Regions from separate parts of the Homo sapiens genome. Here region 1 is linked to region 2. The links are contacts of gene promoters, found by promoter capture Hi-C in human tissues and cell types (Jung and others, 2019). All regions are on one chromosome and are shown on one strand. Each heading gives the region's core, a stretch centred on a gene start or on the middle of the fragment in contact. The rest is flanking DNA. Distances are from core to core; before and after follow the strand shown. Region 1 overlaps KCNIP4 (potassium voltage-gated channel interacting protein 4). Region 2 holds the start of KCNIP4 (potassium voltage-gated channel interacting protein 4).

What was found. The method cuts DNA at HindIII sites, captures the fragments that hold promoters and counts their contacts. A contact is called where the count stands out against the background at its distance.
Region 1: a fragment that was not itself captured here is called in contact with the fragment with the promoter of KCNIP4 in region 2 in 3 of the 25 tissues and cell types used here (H1 embryonic stem cells, dorsolateral prefrontal cortex and pancreas).

Annotation. Positions count from the first base shown.
Region 1 is chr4:21,871,188-21,878,432 of GRCh38, reverse strand. All of the region lies in intron 1 of KCNIP4 (potassium voltage-gated channel interacting protein 4), which reads left to right. Among named protein-coding and RNA genes, the nearest start is that of KCNIP4-IT1, 22 kb to the right of the region's middle. The HindIII fragment of the contact is 3,864 bases long and covers 1-3,363 here.
Region 2 is chr4:21,946,487-21,953,981 of GRCh38, reverse strand. KCNIP4 (potassium voltage-gated channel interacting protein 4) reads left to right here and starts at 5,210. Exons shown (of 9, transcript NM_025221.6): 1 at 5,210-5,411. The coding sequence starts at 5,351. RefSeq lists enhancers at 4,262-4,762, 4,763-5,263. The HindIII fragment of the contact is 8,414 bases long and covers 1-6,994 here.

The DNA.
Region 1 (7,245 bases), core at 182-2,681, 72 kb after region 2:
TCTGTATGCAGAAAGTGTTGATCAGAGGACACAGTGATCTTCAAATCAAAAGGGCAAGGCCGGGTACTGTGGCTCATGCCTGTAATCCCAGCACTTTGGGAGGTCGAGGCAGGTGGATCGCTTGAGATTAGGAGTTAGAGACCAGCCTGGCCAACATGGTGAAACTCTGTCTCTTCTAAAAATACAAAAATTAGCTGTGCGTGGTGGTGTGTGCCTGTAATCCCAGCTACTTGGGTGGCTGAGGCAGGAGAATGACTTGCATCTGAAAGGTGGAGGCTACAGTCAGCAGAGACCATACCACTGGTTACAGTGAGCTGAGACTGTGCCACTGCACTCCAGCCTGGGCAACAGAGAGAGACTGCATCTCAAAACAAACAACAAACAAACAAACACCCAAAACACACACATACAAAAGTGTAAGTTTCCATGGGCCTGTGTTCTCTGGAAGTTCTTACCCTCCTGTTCTCAGAAATCTCTCTGTGCTCACTCAGCATATCTGAATTGTTCTGAGAAGGCTCTGGCTCTTTGTCCACAACCCCAGAACATTCCTCAGTGTCTATTGTGTGACATGGAGAGAAAAGGCCTTCTAGGTTTTTGCTGGACCAAGATTTAATATCTAAGAGATATTCTTGTAAAAGGAGAAGGGTTAGAAACAGAAGCAGGACTAGAGAACACCTGGTGGTCCAGGAAGAATAGAGGCATCTGCAGGGAGATTAGTCATCTGTACTAAAATGGAACTAAGTTCTTCAGGTCAGAATATGCAGTGGTGAAAAATCAGGTAGGCAGGAGGGCAGTCATTGCCAGAGAACAAAGGAGAGTGGTAGGAAAAACCAAGAACCCGGAAATTCAGTGTGGCCATTGAAGAGGGAAATTAGGAGGAGAGACTTAAGATACAGAGTAACTAGATTGTTACTATGGTGACCATTTAGTCCTGTTGAGTAATACTTACTATATGCCCTCTAAATTCCTGATCCATTCTAGGGTAACACCATAAAACCAACCTTGGTCCTATGTTATACATTTAATGACAATGGTAACTCAGTGTTTGGTTTTATTTATTTATTTATTTATTTATTTTTGAGATGGAGTTTCACTCTTGTTGCCCAGGCTGGAGTGCAGTGGTGCCATCTCAGCTCACTGCAACCTCCATCTCTCGGGTTCAAGCAATTCTCCTGCCTCAGCCTCCCAAGTAGCTCTGATTACAGGGACCCGCCACCACACTTGGCTAATTTTTGTATTTTCAGTAGAGATGTGGTTTCACCATGTTGGTCAGGCTGTTCTTGAACTCTTTACCTCAGGTGATCCATCGCCTCGGCCTCCCAAAGTGCTGGGATTACAGTTGTGAACCTCTGCACCCAGCCCAGTATTTGGTTTTAATGGACCTATTTTTAAATCTGCTGATATTGTTCTTAGTCAGTGTATTTTTGCTGATCTTTAATCCTTTTTTTTTTTCTCCTAATCCAGGCAATTGAGTGGTGCCTGTCTAAGATTGTCTGGCCACTAGCAGATGGACTGGCTTGCACATGGCCTGTTATCACTACAAATTTGAGAGTGTGCTAACATAAATAATCCAGACTCAAGTCTCCCGTTGACAAAACATGTTTGATTTTATCATGTATATAAAATAAATGTATAGTCCTACCATTTTCTTTTTTTGAACTTTCACTCACTTTTTTATGATGAAATATACATTAGAAATTTTAAAAAACACTTCATCCTGTCAATCACTTCAAAATTCAGCACATTCTGTTTTCAAAGACTTTCATGAGGCAGTCTGCTTGAAATCTATTTTAACTTATTTTTTTAAAATAGCATTTTATTTTGTTCTGTGGAGCAAGAGTATATTTGGCTCTAAAATTAATTCCACTCGAACAGCCCCAGTTTTCTTTCCACTTAGTCTTGGAGAAAGGGAGTCTTTTCCTTCCTCCTGTCTTTCTAATTAATGTATTTCCTCATTTAGTACTCCGCTTACAATCCTGCTTCTGCTTCTTAACCCAGGACCCACCAATAGAATTTAAGGGTTCAGTGAACTTACATAGGAATAAAAATGTAATCTTTATTTTACTAACTTCCAGTGAATTTAAGGTCCTTAAATTATGGGTGTGTAAGCAACAAAGCACAGAGATTATGTGCAACTTTGCCTCCAGTAAAATCATAGATAGAATCATAATCATAATATCACATTGCAGTTGTTACAGATATAGTTAAAAATTACAGTATTTGACCCATTTCTACATATTGATAGTTAATACGTTCATAGTGAAGTGTATCACTATGTCACAATTTTACTTTTGTAATATTTTTATAGCTTTTTTCAATATGATTAATTTTCTTTATGGACCTGTGTATTTTCTTTTATTCATTGGAAAGCATTGTTTTGAGAAGAAGGCCATAGGCTTCACAAAACTGTGAAAGGGATCCATGGTTCAAAAACAATTAAGAACTTAAATTGATTTTTCTGAAGTCTCCTTTTTCTATGTAGACCATAATTTGAATGTATTTTACTTGTCCTGAAATGCCTCTAAGTCAATAAGCTTGTATTTTCTTCTGAAATTCTATGATCTGAAATATTTTCATGTGGCATGTGAAGTAAAAGCATTTCTCGTGCCAATTAGAAAAAATGCATCTGACATTAAATTAGCATTTACTATAATGAAATCAGGCCTGTGTGATTAATACAGTGCAATTATACTCATCTGAAAATTTGCCATATTTAATTTTTCAGCATCAAATAATCAAAAATCGTATTTGTTTGTGAAGGATACAATGTTCTTCTCTCAGTGCTGAACACAGGCATTGATTTCCGGTGACAAGAAGGCTTCTATAACAACTTAATTGATTATAATACTTATTAAGTGCTTACAGCATACTAGACATTGTGCCAAAAAAATCACTTCTACTGGTATAGAAATGCCTAATACAACTCACAGATATGGAGTACTAAGTGCAACATGTCCAAATCACCACTGACTATTTCAACGTAGAAAAGCATTTTATGAGTAAATAGGTGAAAAACATGAACCACAGAAATACTTATTTCTATCTATTTATTTGTTTGAATTTAATTCCAGAATTAATCAAATCCTGTCTCTATTGGCTGCTGGTGACTCTGTGTCTAATGAAGAATCAGCTCTATTTGCAGCAGTTGGCTCACTGGAGCAATAGTCATGGTGTCCATTATGAGTGATGATCTCAAATAGTGGGAAAGGGCATGAACTCAGGAATCAGACAGACCCAAGTCTGCATCGTGGCTTTTCTACTGACTAGCTCTGTGACCTTGTTTAAGTTACATTTGTGCCTCAGATTCCTTATCTTAAGAAATGACAATAATAAGATATAACTTACAAGGTAGTTATATAAAACACAGACTTATAGGGAAAATGTCTGTCACAGTTGTCTGGCAGATAGTGAGCTCTCAACAATTTTTAGTTGTCGTTGTTTGTTGTCAGAACTCTTCTCAAATATGCCTCCTTCCCAGCAATAAGAGTTCGAGAACCACATCAATTCCTACCCTCTATTGAAATCTTATGAGCCCAGAGGATGTGGCACACTCCTTGTTTCAGAGAAATACAATCAAGTTAGAAATTAGAAATTTATACAGGAATCAGATGGGAAATATGGAAAGGTAGTAAAAATAGTAAAAAGAATGCTAAATGTTGTGATATGTATTTATATAAATTAGAATCCTGGCATGAAATAGGGTGATTGAAGAGAGGTTAAGTGAGAGAACAATTTACCAATTTGTGGGTAAAAAAGAGAAGCAAAATAGAATGGTGTAGCACCCAAGGAGTAGCAAATATCAGGAGCCATTACTAACCCATGAAACTGAGAGGGGAAGAAGCCTTTTCCAGAATCTGGAGAGAGCTGTGGCTATCACTGCAGGGAAATACCTCCTGATAGGAGTTACAGCCTTATCTAAAGGAGCACAGCCATTCTCTCTCCCTCTGTGGGTCAGATCCCAGAGAACATACATTCTAATGTCTGTCTCCATCAACCCCCAAACCAGCTGAAAGCCAGAGAGCTCAGGAACCCAGGTAAAGCAGTTTGGACAGACGGCCTCATGCAGCATGATGGAGAAGGACAGAGAGTAAATGTGAAGAGGCAACTGAGATTAGTCAGCAAAATATTAAAAGATACATTTAGCAATTTAGAGAAGGAGGGAACAGTAAGAATTCAAGCAGTCTCAGGAAGCTTCTCTAACAATGAAAGTTGGGTTCTATAAATAATTCCTGCTTTAGACTTAACATGTTGTGTACATTGTAATCGAATGTGACATAACCATTCTGGTCTAACAATTCCACCCAATGATATGGTTAAGTGCCCCCTTCGAATAACAGTGCTACTCCTTGTTGCGGCTATGCGTATCAGTCACAGTGAATGTAATACAGCTTGGCAAGAGCCCAGGATTTTTGCCTTGCAAGTCTTCAGAAAATGTAGAGAGAGCAAGCAAATTATCTTGTGTGAGCAGAGTGAACAAAATGCATGGGGAGGTAGAATTTCAGCTAGCCTGACAATAGGTCTCAGCCTTGTTCACCTTCCTGCCCTCAAATGGCCAAGGAATCTGTTCAAAGATAAATGCCCTCTGTTGTTTAGAAGCCTGCTGAATCTTTCACCCAGACAGCATTGATTACTCCTACAAGACCTATTTATTTGAAACTTCCTATTGATCTGTTTACAGAATTCACTTCAGGACTTATTTTGTAACCGGGATGCTTTCAATTAGGGATTCCTTTGGGTCTTATTTTTATAATTTTGTTGTGGTTGGCAAGGCTGTTTGTATGTTCAGATAGATTGTCCTAAATGTTTAGTCTCATGATTTTGTCCAATAGTAATAATTCAGTCTTTCAACAGTGAATTCAGTGAATCATTCATTGACCAAACATTTTCTCAGTGACTATTTTGTGCCAGGCACTGTGGTATGTGTGTATTAGCTAACTCTAAAAGGCCAAATTATTTTCATTTCTTTTAATTCTGATGGACTGATAATACTGTTTTTGCATTGTTCTTTTGAGGTAGATTTTCAGGTCTATCTAGGGCTCAGCAGAAATGAGTTCTGTAATTGATGGGCATGGCTATGAGGCAGTAAGTGCTTTCAACTGTGGGTCAGCTGAGTGGTTGGTTTGCATAATGCATTGTATCATTTAGGTTTAGTAACACTCCTTTTCTATGAGAGGAAACCTTTTTACTACAAGCTCGTTTCAAGTATATATCACCTTATACCTGGAAGGCTCTCTAAATCTTTGTTGAATAAATTAATTTAATATTTAAACATTCAAAGAGATTGGGTTTTATTTGGACAACGTGGTTCTCTCTACTTCTGTCATACTTTGAAAAGTGACAGAGAAAATGCACATACAAAATGGTGGATACCTTTCTGTGGTTCACATTTCTAAAGATTTTTACTAATGATATCAATGAATCTATACATGAATATTGGAGCTAATGGACCATGTTGGAAATCATGAATGATTAGGTTTTAAGTTCCAGACCACTTCCAAGTGGAATCTAAGAAACAATTGTAAGGTGAAGGTTACATTTTCTGTGACAGCTGTATGGATGTGTTCTATACTGGCTTCATAGAAAAAGTTAATACTATATTTGCCATTTAGTTAGAAATAATGAAGCTTTACAACCTCAGGACAATTTTAACAATTCTTGAAAAATATTTGCCAGTACATCTCTTCAGGCATACTCCCCTTGCTGAAATGAAATAAATTAGATCTTAGGGTTGTATGCATATTATTTGAGACACAGAAAGAGTGAAATACATTCATGGTAACTGAATCTATTATCTATTCCTTCTTAAGATAACTTTTATCAGGAGGTCTTTGCATCTCCTTTTTCTCTGTCCCTCCTTTCTTCATGTATTCTAAGGCATTATAAAAATCTCGTTTTTGGATCACTAGCCTTTGGGTCACGATTCTGTACTTCGACCTGGAATGAAACAAGAGTCTATTCATACCTACAATCGTCAAAACGCCTGCTGCTTCTCTTTAGCCTGTGGATCACTCCTGCCTTTAAAGGGGATTATCAAAACATTCAGCACTCTGAAGGACAAAGGCAGAAACCTGATAGAATAAATCCTGGCTCATAGCGCTGGAGTAGGAGTTCAGAAGCCCTGAGTGTGAATGATGAATGCCAGGCGTTCACGTTTCTCAGGGGGCCTGTGAGAAAGAAGGTAGGTGGGTTGGAGGGAATTTTGTTCCTGGGGATAAGACAGTGGCTGTGAATTAGTTCAGCAATATCAACCTTTTGTAGTCAGGATCAGCTGGGTCCTTCTGGCTCTCCCCTTCTCTGAGGGCTGCAGAGATTCCCAGGTCAGGGAATTGCAGCTGATAGGACACTTAAGCTCTCTGTTCTATCTACCAGGGGACAAGGCATCATCATTTCCCATTGCTTTTTTTCTTTCTCCGTGTTAAAAAATATTATTCAGACACTTGTTAAAACGGTAAGGCAGACTTTATTCAGGACTATTCCAATTGGTGCAGGGAAAACTGCAGTGTGGTTTTGCAGCAGGGGAGAAAGACTGGGCTCAACCCTGAATATAACAAGAAATAATGGGAAATCAAAGCCAAGGAGAAGAGTGGAGGAGAGGGGATCAGTGAACAGAAAATTTCTAAGAGGAAATCTCAGGGGTAAGGCGGGGGGTGGGGGTGGGTGGGGGGAGGTGGGGATCTGGCTAAATTGGCCTAACAGGATTCTTGCTGAAGATAAACCTGGGTGATCAAATTCACTGGGAGATGGTGGAGGATGAGAAATTGGATCAGATATTGAGGGTGATAAGATATTGATGGATTCTGGCAAAAGCAACTTGAGAGGAATCTTGCTAAAACTGGGCTCTTTGTTCAATTCCCACCTATAAGTGAGAACATGTGGTGTTTGGTTTTCTGTCCTTGCGATAGTTTGCTCAGAATGATGGTTTCCAGCTTCATCCATGTCCCTACAAAGGACATTAACTCATCCTTTTATATGGCTGCATAGTATTCCATGGTGTATATGTGCCACATTTTCTTAATCCAGTCTATCATTGATGGACATTTGGGTTGGTTCCAAGTCTTTGCTATTGTGAATAGTGCCACAGTAAACATACGTGTGCATGTGTCTTTATAGCAGTATGATTTATATGGGGAACATCACACACCGGGGCCTGTTGTGGGGTGGGGGGAGGTGGGGAGCGGGGAGGGGGGAGGGGGGAGGGATAGCATTAGGAGATAGACCTAATGTAAATGACCAGTTAATGGGTGC
Region 2 (7,495 bases), core at 3,961-6,460:
TAGGGTATGTATTAGTCCGCTCGGGCTACCACAACAAAATACTACAGGCTGTGCGGTTTAAACAACAGAAGTTTACCTTCCCACAGTTCTGCAGGCTGGAAGTCCAAGGTCAAGGTGTCAGTAGAGTTCTATTTACACTGAGGGCTCTCTTCCTGGCTTGCAGACGGCTGCTGTGTCCTCACATGGCCTTTCTTCTGAGTGATTTCTTTTTTTTTCCTCTTCCTCTAAGGCCACCTCTTCCTCTAAGATTAGGCCTTCTATCTAAACTATGGACTTTAGTTAAAAATAATGTATCATTGGCTCAATTGTAAAAATGTACCACACTAATACCAGATGTTAACAACAGGGAAAACTCGAGGAGGGGTTACTGGAGAGAGGGTACATGGGAACTCTGTATGCTCATTTTTTCTTTTGAAAACCAAAAAGTCAAAAGGAAAGGATTACAAAAGGGATCAATGAAATTTCAGTGAGTGGAGGATGTGTTCATTATCTTAACTGTGCTGTAGTTACTTGAATGTATCTGTATGTCAAATCTTATTAAATTGTACACTTTATGTGCGGTTTATTGTATGTCATTTATACTTTAATAAATTTGTTTAAAAAAAACCAAAAAGTGCTCTAAAAGTCTATTAATTACAAAATAAATTACATTCTAAGATCTCCCCACCAAACTCAGTGAATCCATCCACAGGCTGGAGCAGAGGAGTTTTTAATCTGTTTAGATGATTCTTATGCATGTTAAAGTTTAAGAACAATCAAGAAGCAATTGAAAGCTCTAGTGTTTTAATCAGATGAACGTGAGTTCAAATCGCAGCTGCACCTCTTCACAGCTGGCTGTCCTTGGGCTACTTAACCTCTCTGAGTCTCAGTCTCATTTTAAAATCAGGGTAAGAATAAGTATATATGATGATTTTTCTTAGAATTAATTCATACAATGACATAGAGTTTTTAACACAGTGCATAGGTGCATAGTGTAAGTGCTCAGCAATTATGAAATAATAGAAGTTTTACTGTTACTGCCTGAGTTCTGGTGAGCCAGGGAGAATTGTGCCAAAATGTAAGGGGCTTTCAGAGAAGACAAAGCAGTAAAGGTAATAAGCAATAAAAAATCAGGAAATAATAAAAGTAATCCTGGATGCTTCTACAACATTCCATGGTTTATATATAGCTTTCACTTTCATTCCCTGACTTGATCCTGACAATGACCTTGTGAAGCAGAAATTCCCCTTTTTACAGAAGAGGAACTGAAGCTTAGACATGATCAGTGACTTTCCGGAGGACACAGAACTAGGAAATGTCAGAGTCTAGAGCATCGAAATTCTAGTGCAGGGTGACAGTACACTGTAGTAATTAAATATGGGGGCTCTTGAGTCAGACGGTTGGGTTCAAAGCCCAGATATACTGATTACTATTATAAAACTGGCAAACCAGTTCCCTTCTCTGAGGCTTAATTTCTTCACTAGTTAAGTAGAGATAATAACAGTGCTTATCTCCCAGTGCTTTGTAAAGATTAAATGAAATAATGTTCATAAAGTCTGAGATTCATGGCTGGCACATGGTGAGTTTCCTATTTCTGCACTCAATTTTGAATATGGTTCCTTGAGGGAAAAATACACATCCGTGCTATACAGAAAGTAATCTAGGGTTAGTCAGAGAAGGTGGCAATCTTTGTGCATGTGTCTTGAGGTTGGGAAGACGGGCTAGGGTTGCTACAGCCTCGGAGGAGTAATAAGAAGCTGGCACAGCATGCTGTGGCCTATGAAGCTCTTCTCTTTAACTAGTTGAAGTACTTAAAGAGCCAATAAGGAGATGGTACAAGCAAGACAGAGAAATCCTGGACTTTCGGTCCCAAATATCAAAAATGGCGGTAAATGTGGCAGTAAAAAGATAATTATTCTGTGATGTTTGGCAATGACTAAGAATCCGAGTAAAAAGGTCTGGACTTGGGATTTGTAGTAGCTAAACTCCCATACAAATATTTTGGAAATATATTAATATATTAATATTATATATTGATTATATTATATAATACAATATTTATATGTTAATATATTACAAACTTCTTCAGCACAGTGTCTACTTTACACGATTTTGTTGCCTTCTTTATAATTAGTTAAGGGGTAAACGTTTAGTAGGGCCACCATGGGCAGATATTCTTTGGATAAGATTTGAAAGATAGTTTGGTCCAACAAAATGTTCTGCATATTTTGGAGATGAGAAAGGGGTTGTGTATTACTTCCCACACTGTGAGGGAAGGTTGCTTAGACCTGTTGTAGAATATAGTGGTGCCATTTCTTCTTTGAGTTCACCATGACAAAATATGATGATGATAATGGTGATAACTATTACGATGGCAGCTCTTACTGACTCTATGTGCCAGGGGCCATCCTAAACACTTTACATATGCTGCCTCATATAATCTTTCCCAATAGTTAAGTAGACACTATTCTTTTCTTTACTTTTTTTTTTTGAGACAGAGTCTTGCTCTGTTACCCAGGCTGGAGTGCAATGGCATGATCTCGGCTTACTGCAACCTCCGCCTCCCAGGTTCAAGTGATTCTCCTGCCTCAGCCTCTTGAGTAGCTGGGATTACAGGCATGCATCACCACACCTGGCTAATTTTTGTATTATTAGTAGAGTTGGGGTTTCACCATGTTGGCCAGGCTGGTCTCGAACTCCTGACCTCAGGTGATCCGCTCACCTCGGCCTCCCAAAGTGCTGGGATTACAGGCATGAGCCACCTTGCCCGGCTGACACTATTATTTTCTTCATTTTAGAGTGAGAAAACTGAGGGAGGTTATTAGTCCTCAAACATACAGCTTGTTCACAGTTGGAACTGGAATTCCAACCCAGGCTGCAGAATCCAAACCAGCATGCTCAGGTAGCTTTAGAAGTCATCATATAGAAGACAAAATTTGGAGTTGGACAAGTATTAGTGATTCAAAGTTGTGGGTGGTTTCTGGAAAGAGTGTTAGCTACAGAAAAAGAGAAAGAAGTAGTTGGTCAGTAAGTTGGAAGTTTGCTAGGAGAAGTCTGCAGAAGAGGGAGAAGGTGGCACGCGACAGAATCGAATGATTGAATCTGATAGAATGGGCAGCGAGAAGACTTGTTATGAGGAAGCTGGCAAGTGGGAAGAATGCATTGGCTGTAAAAGTATGCAGACAAAATTCAATAAACATTTACACTGCACATGATCCCATCCTCTCTGACTCTCTCTCCTGTTACCCTTTCCTTCTCTCAATGTACTTCAGCCCTGTCAACCTCCTGGCTGCCCTGCAAACATGCTATTCTTATGTTAGCTCTTGCTCTTCTCTCTGCTTGGAAGTTCTTTTTCCCTTGAGATGCCCATGGCTAGCTCCTCGCTTTCATCAGGATTCCAATTAAATGTTGCCTCTTTCATAAAGCCCTTATGGACCCCCTATATAAAAGTGATCTCCCTAGCAGATCACTTCTGATTCCTTGATTTATTGTCAGTCTCTCTGCCTTCTAGATAGTCAGCCAATAACTGAGGGTCTTTGTTGTATTCACTGTGGTATCCCAGTGCCTATAATTGTGTCTTGTACACAGTAGTTACTAGATGTTTGCTGAATAATGAAAAAACAAATGTTTAGTGAAGACCAACTATGTGCAAGGAACTTTTCTAATTGCTTTGTCAATATAACATTGTTCTCAACTTCAAGAATCAGGGTTGCCTGTCTTTATACAGTGATTGCTACATGCCAGTCACGGCTCTAAGCCCTTTGCATCTATTGATTTTCTTAAATCCTCACAACAAAACAATAATGTAGGTACCAGTTATAGCTGATATTTGTACCAGGCCACAGGATTATGAAGTAGTGGAACTAGGATTTGAACCCAGACAATGGGGTGTCAGCATCTGTCTCCTTAACAATGAACTAAAAGAGTAAAAGGCTCTCAAGAAATATACAAATACATGCTACAAGGGCTCAAAGGACTAAGTAAATCGCTCGTGCGTTTGGGGGTGGGGAGAAGGGCAATAAGGTGTCAATTGAGACCTACTTGGAGAAAGGGGGAAGATTTCACTTGGTGACAGTGTGTATAAATAATCCAGCAGCCATAGGGAAGGCAAATAGTTTCACAAACACTTAGAAATGGCTTCCACCCAAGTCATGGCCAACTGACCTTGCAGCTGAGAGTGAGAGGGAATTTTAATTCAGTTTGCCTGGAGAACGGGTCAACTTGACCTTTCTTCTGAAAAGAGAGGCTTCATGCACTTGACTCTTGGGGACACAGAAATCTGCATTTTAATTTTGACTTCTCAAACAGTAACCATGGCCACAAGTGGTCTATTGGTTTCTCTTTACCTTCCCAACTATTCCCGGCCTTACTGTGCTTTAGAAGGGCAAATGACCTTGCGGGTGGTGAGCGATACCTCCTGGTTGACCTGCCTGGGAGATCTCAAATGAAACCCCCCACATGGATGCTTCTCCAAAATGCCACCAGTCTATGCCACCCCCTCTCTCCAAGGTGGTATTCTGCACCTCGGCCCTGCGATGTTCACCTGGAGTCTAGAGCCAGTGTTTCCCCACACTTAGCCGAGTCGCATGACCGGTTCTAGCTTCAATGGGGGAAAGTTTCCCGTCTAGGAGTTCTGGCGCTCTGCCCGGCTCCGGAGAAGGGCATCTCCTTGCGCTTCCTCTCTGGTGTCCTTCGAACTCAGCCTAACTTTGTGCAGCAGTATTTCCAGTCTAGCTGTCCAAGTTGGAGCCCCTGGGGGACGCAGCGGCGCGTTGAGAAGGCGCGGCGCCTTCGAGCCCCTCCCCAGAGCAGGCGCTGCTCGCAGTGACAAGGGGTCCTAGAGGCGCCCGCTGAGAGCCGCTGGCAACTCCCGGGGGTGTCCTGCCCAGCCCGAAGTCACCTCGGGTCTCTTTCGGGTCCATCTACTCTGTCGCCAGAGGCACCGTGCCACCCGCGGCGCTTTCCTCTCCCCGCACCCCGCCCCCCGCATCCCCAGTCCGGTGACTTGGCAGCAGGTGGCAGGGGCGGCGCTCACGAGGGCGAGGGGCTGGGGTCCCCGCACTCGAGCCGCCCGTGCAGCCCGCCCGCTTCCAGCCGCCGGCGCGAAGCTGCCGGCGCCTCGGCCTCCCCCGCCACCCCGCGCGCCCCCGCCGCCAAGGGCCGCGCAGCGCCCCCGGCGCCCCCCGCCGGCCTCCGCCCGCACCTGCAGCCCGCTCCGCGCGCCCTGCCCGCAGCCGCCGCCGAAGCTCTCGCTCCCAGCGCCACGGACGCCCCCGGGCCGAGCGGCGGTGCGCTCCCGTGCAGACCCGTGGACAGACGCCCCTGGCCGGTGGACTCTCGAGTCTCGCTTCTGCACCCTGCGTCCCTAGACATGAATGTGAGGAGGGTGGAAAGCATTTCGGCTCAGCTGGAGGAGGCCAGCTCTACAGGCGGTAGGATGCAATAAGCTTGCGAGCGGGCGCCCGCTTCCGCCCTCCTTCCCTCGCGAGCCAAGACGGCTGCCCCTTCCCTTCCTCGGCTGGGGACGCTTGTTGCCTTCGCTGCATGAGACACAGTCACCTGGCGGGACTGGGAAGGGGAGGTGGGAGCGGCAGGAATGGGGTGCAAAGGAGAGGGGGGTGCATGCAAGATCCAGGTCGGGGAAGAAAAGATGTTTGAAGTGTGTTTGAAACTCGCCGGTGGCAGGGTCCCCTGCGATCCTGTGCGTACTTTTGCCTTCTCTGAAAATTTCCGAGGTTGTTTATGCATCTGCCAGATGACTCCAGACCGCACGCTTCCTTCCCCTAACACCTGGGGATTAATGAGCTGAAATAGTATTGATCCTCGCCTTCCACTTTTCCTTCATGCCCCCACACGTTTCTTCATTACAACTGTATTTTTGTCCCCTGGTAATATACTGGCGGCATCTTGCCCATGTCAGATTCTAAAGCAGGAGCGTATGGCTTGTTTTATGGCTAGCTTCAGTTTAGTGTGTTCAGAGAAAATGGTCCTCAGTGACACTTGCAAATAATTTATATACAGTACAGCCTTGTTAAGGTATCGGGCACTGTGTTAGGAGCTTGGCTTTCAGAGAAACGTGCGTTCTGCGAAAGCAGGGAGAAATGTTTTGCTGTTTGGTGGGATCCATAGAGAAATAGGAGACGATGCCCTTCCACAAAGCGTCTTGGGTTGCATCGATTTGTTATTAGGTGGTTTTGATGTGTACAGAGTATTTTACAGGAGCCGGAAAGAGAATGGAAGTGATTTTGGGGCACATGAGAGTGATAAAGGGCTGGACCTCTCCCTGATTACATAAGCTAAGGGGTCACATATGGCTATAGCATAGTTTGGGTTTAGAGGGTGAAAAACTTGGACTCGAGGGCTGTAAACTTGCAAGCAAAGAGGTGTTTCCACTTGCTGCCTTCTTTAGTACTCAGGGAAATGGAGTCACCTCAACAACTTGAGTCAATCATTCGAATTTATGGCCATGAGAAATGGAAATGGACACCCTCCCTTTCTTTTCCTCACTCCAATAGTTAAGGTCATCGTAACCGGGAGGACACTAGTCTCACTTGAATATGAAATTTTAAAGAGAACAGTCTTAATCCTTTTGGACTGGAAAAAATAATATGAACATCACCTGTAAAGCCCCACATTTGACTTGTAACTGTGTTTAGTTCTGTTTTCACTTATGCCTGGAGATGCCCACTCATTACGAGCCAAGCATAAGTAGATTATCTCTTGTGAGAAATGCTTACAATCTTTAAGAGATCAAATGTTTCCTGAGTGGCGTGTTTAATGTAGAGGGCTGAGTAGTTTTGGGGTGTTGAGTTGAGTTCGTAGGGTCTCTGTCTTTGCAGTTCTTTAGAATAAACAGGGTAGAGGGCTAGCGCTGTCCTATTAGAGACACATTCACACACGGCAGCCCAGGGAACTCAAGGCTGGAGCAGATGGCAGGAATGTCGTCTCAGGATCTGGATGGCTTGCATTGCTTGGCTCCTCAGTGACCACAGCTCTTTGACTGTACCTGTTCTTCCATCAACCGGATGGGGATTGAATCAGCATGTCTAGACTATGCACAGGGTCATGGGTGGCCATAATCACTATAAATGGGAAATGAAGATGAAGTCACACCTGGGGAGTACTATACATTTAAAAAAGCAAACCTTTTACTGCTATCTCCAGAATCAGCATGTGTTCACTGTTTATTTAGAGAACAGAAATATGTTGTTTTATACCTTGGCTAAGGTGAGACCAAAGTGATGAGTTTTCTGGCTGAGAATTGATTTGACACCTGTTTCTTGAATTGTATTCACAAATTTTTAGTTAGTTGTCATATGATGAGAAGAATAAAGAAAAAAATAGTTTGGATTATCTTTTTTATTCTTGTTGATATTGCTTCAAAGCTAATATTAGAGAATGATCCCCAAATATGTAATACTATTTTCACCAAACATATGCATAAGTACTTTGCTTACTTGTGATCAGATATAGGATGGTCTTTACTAATCCTGGGATGAGAAGGGATGATTTTTAA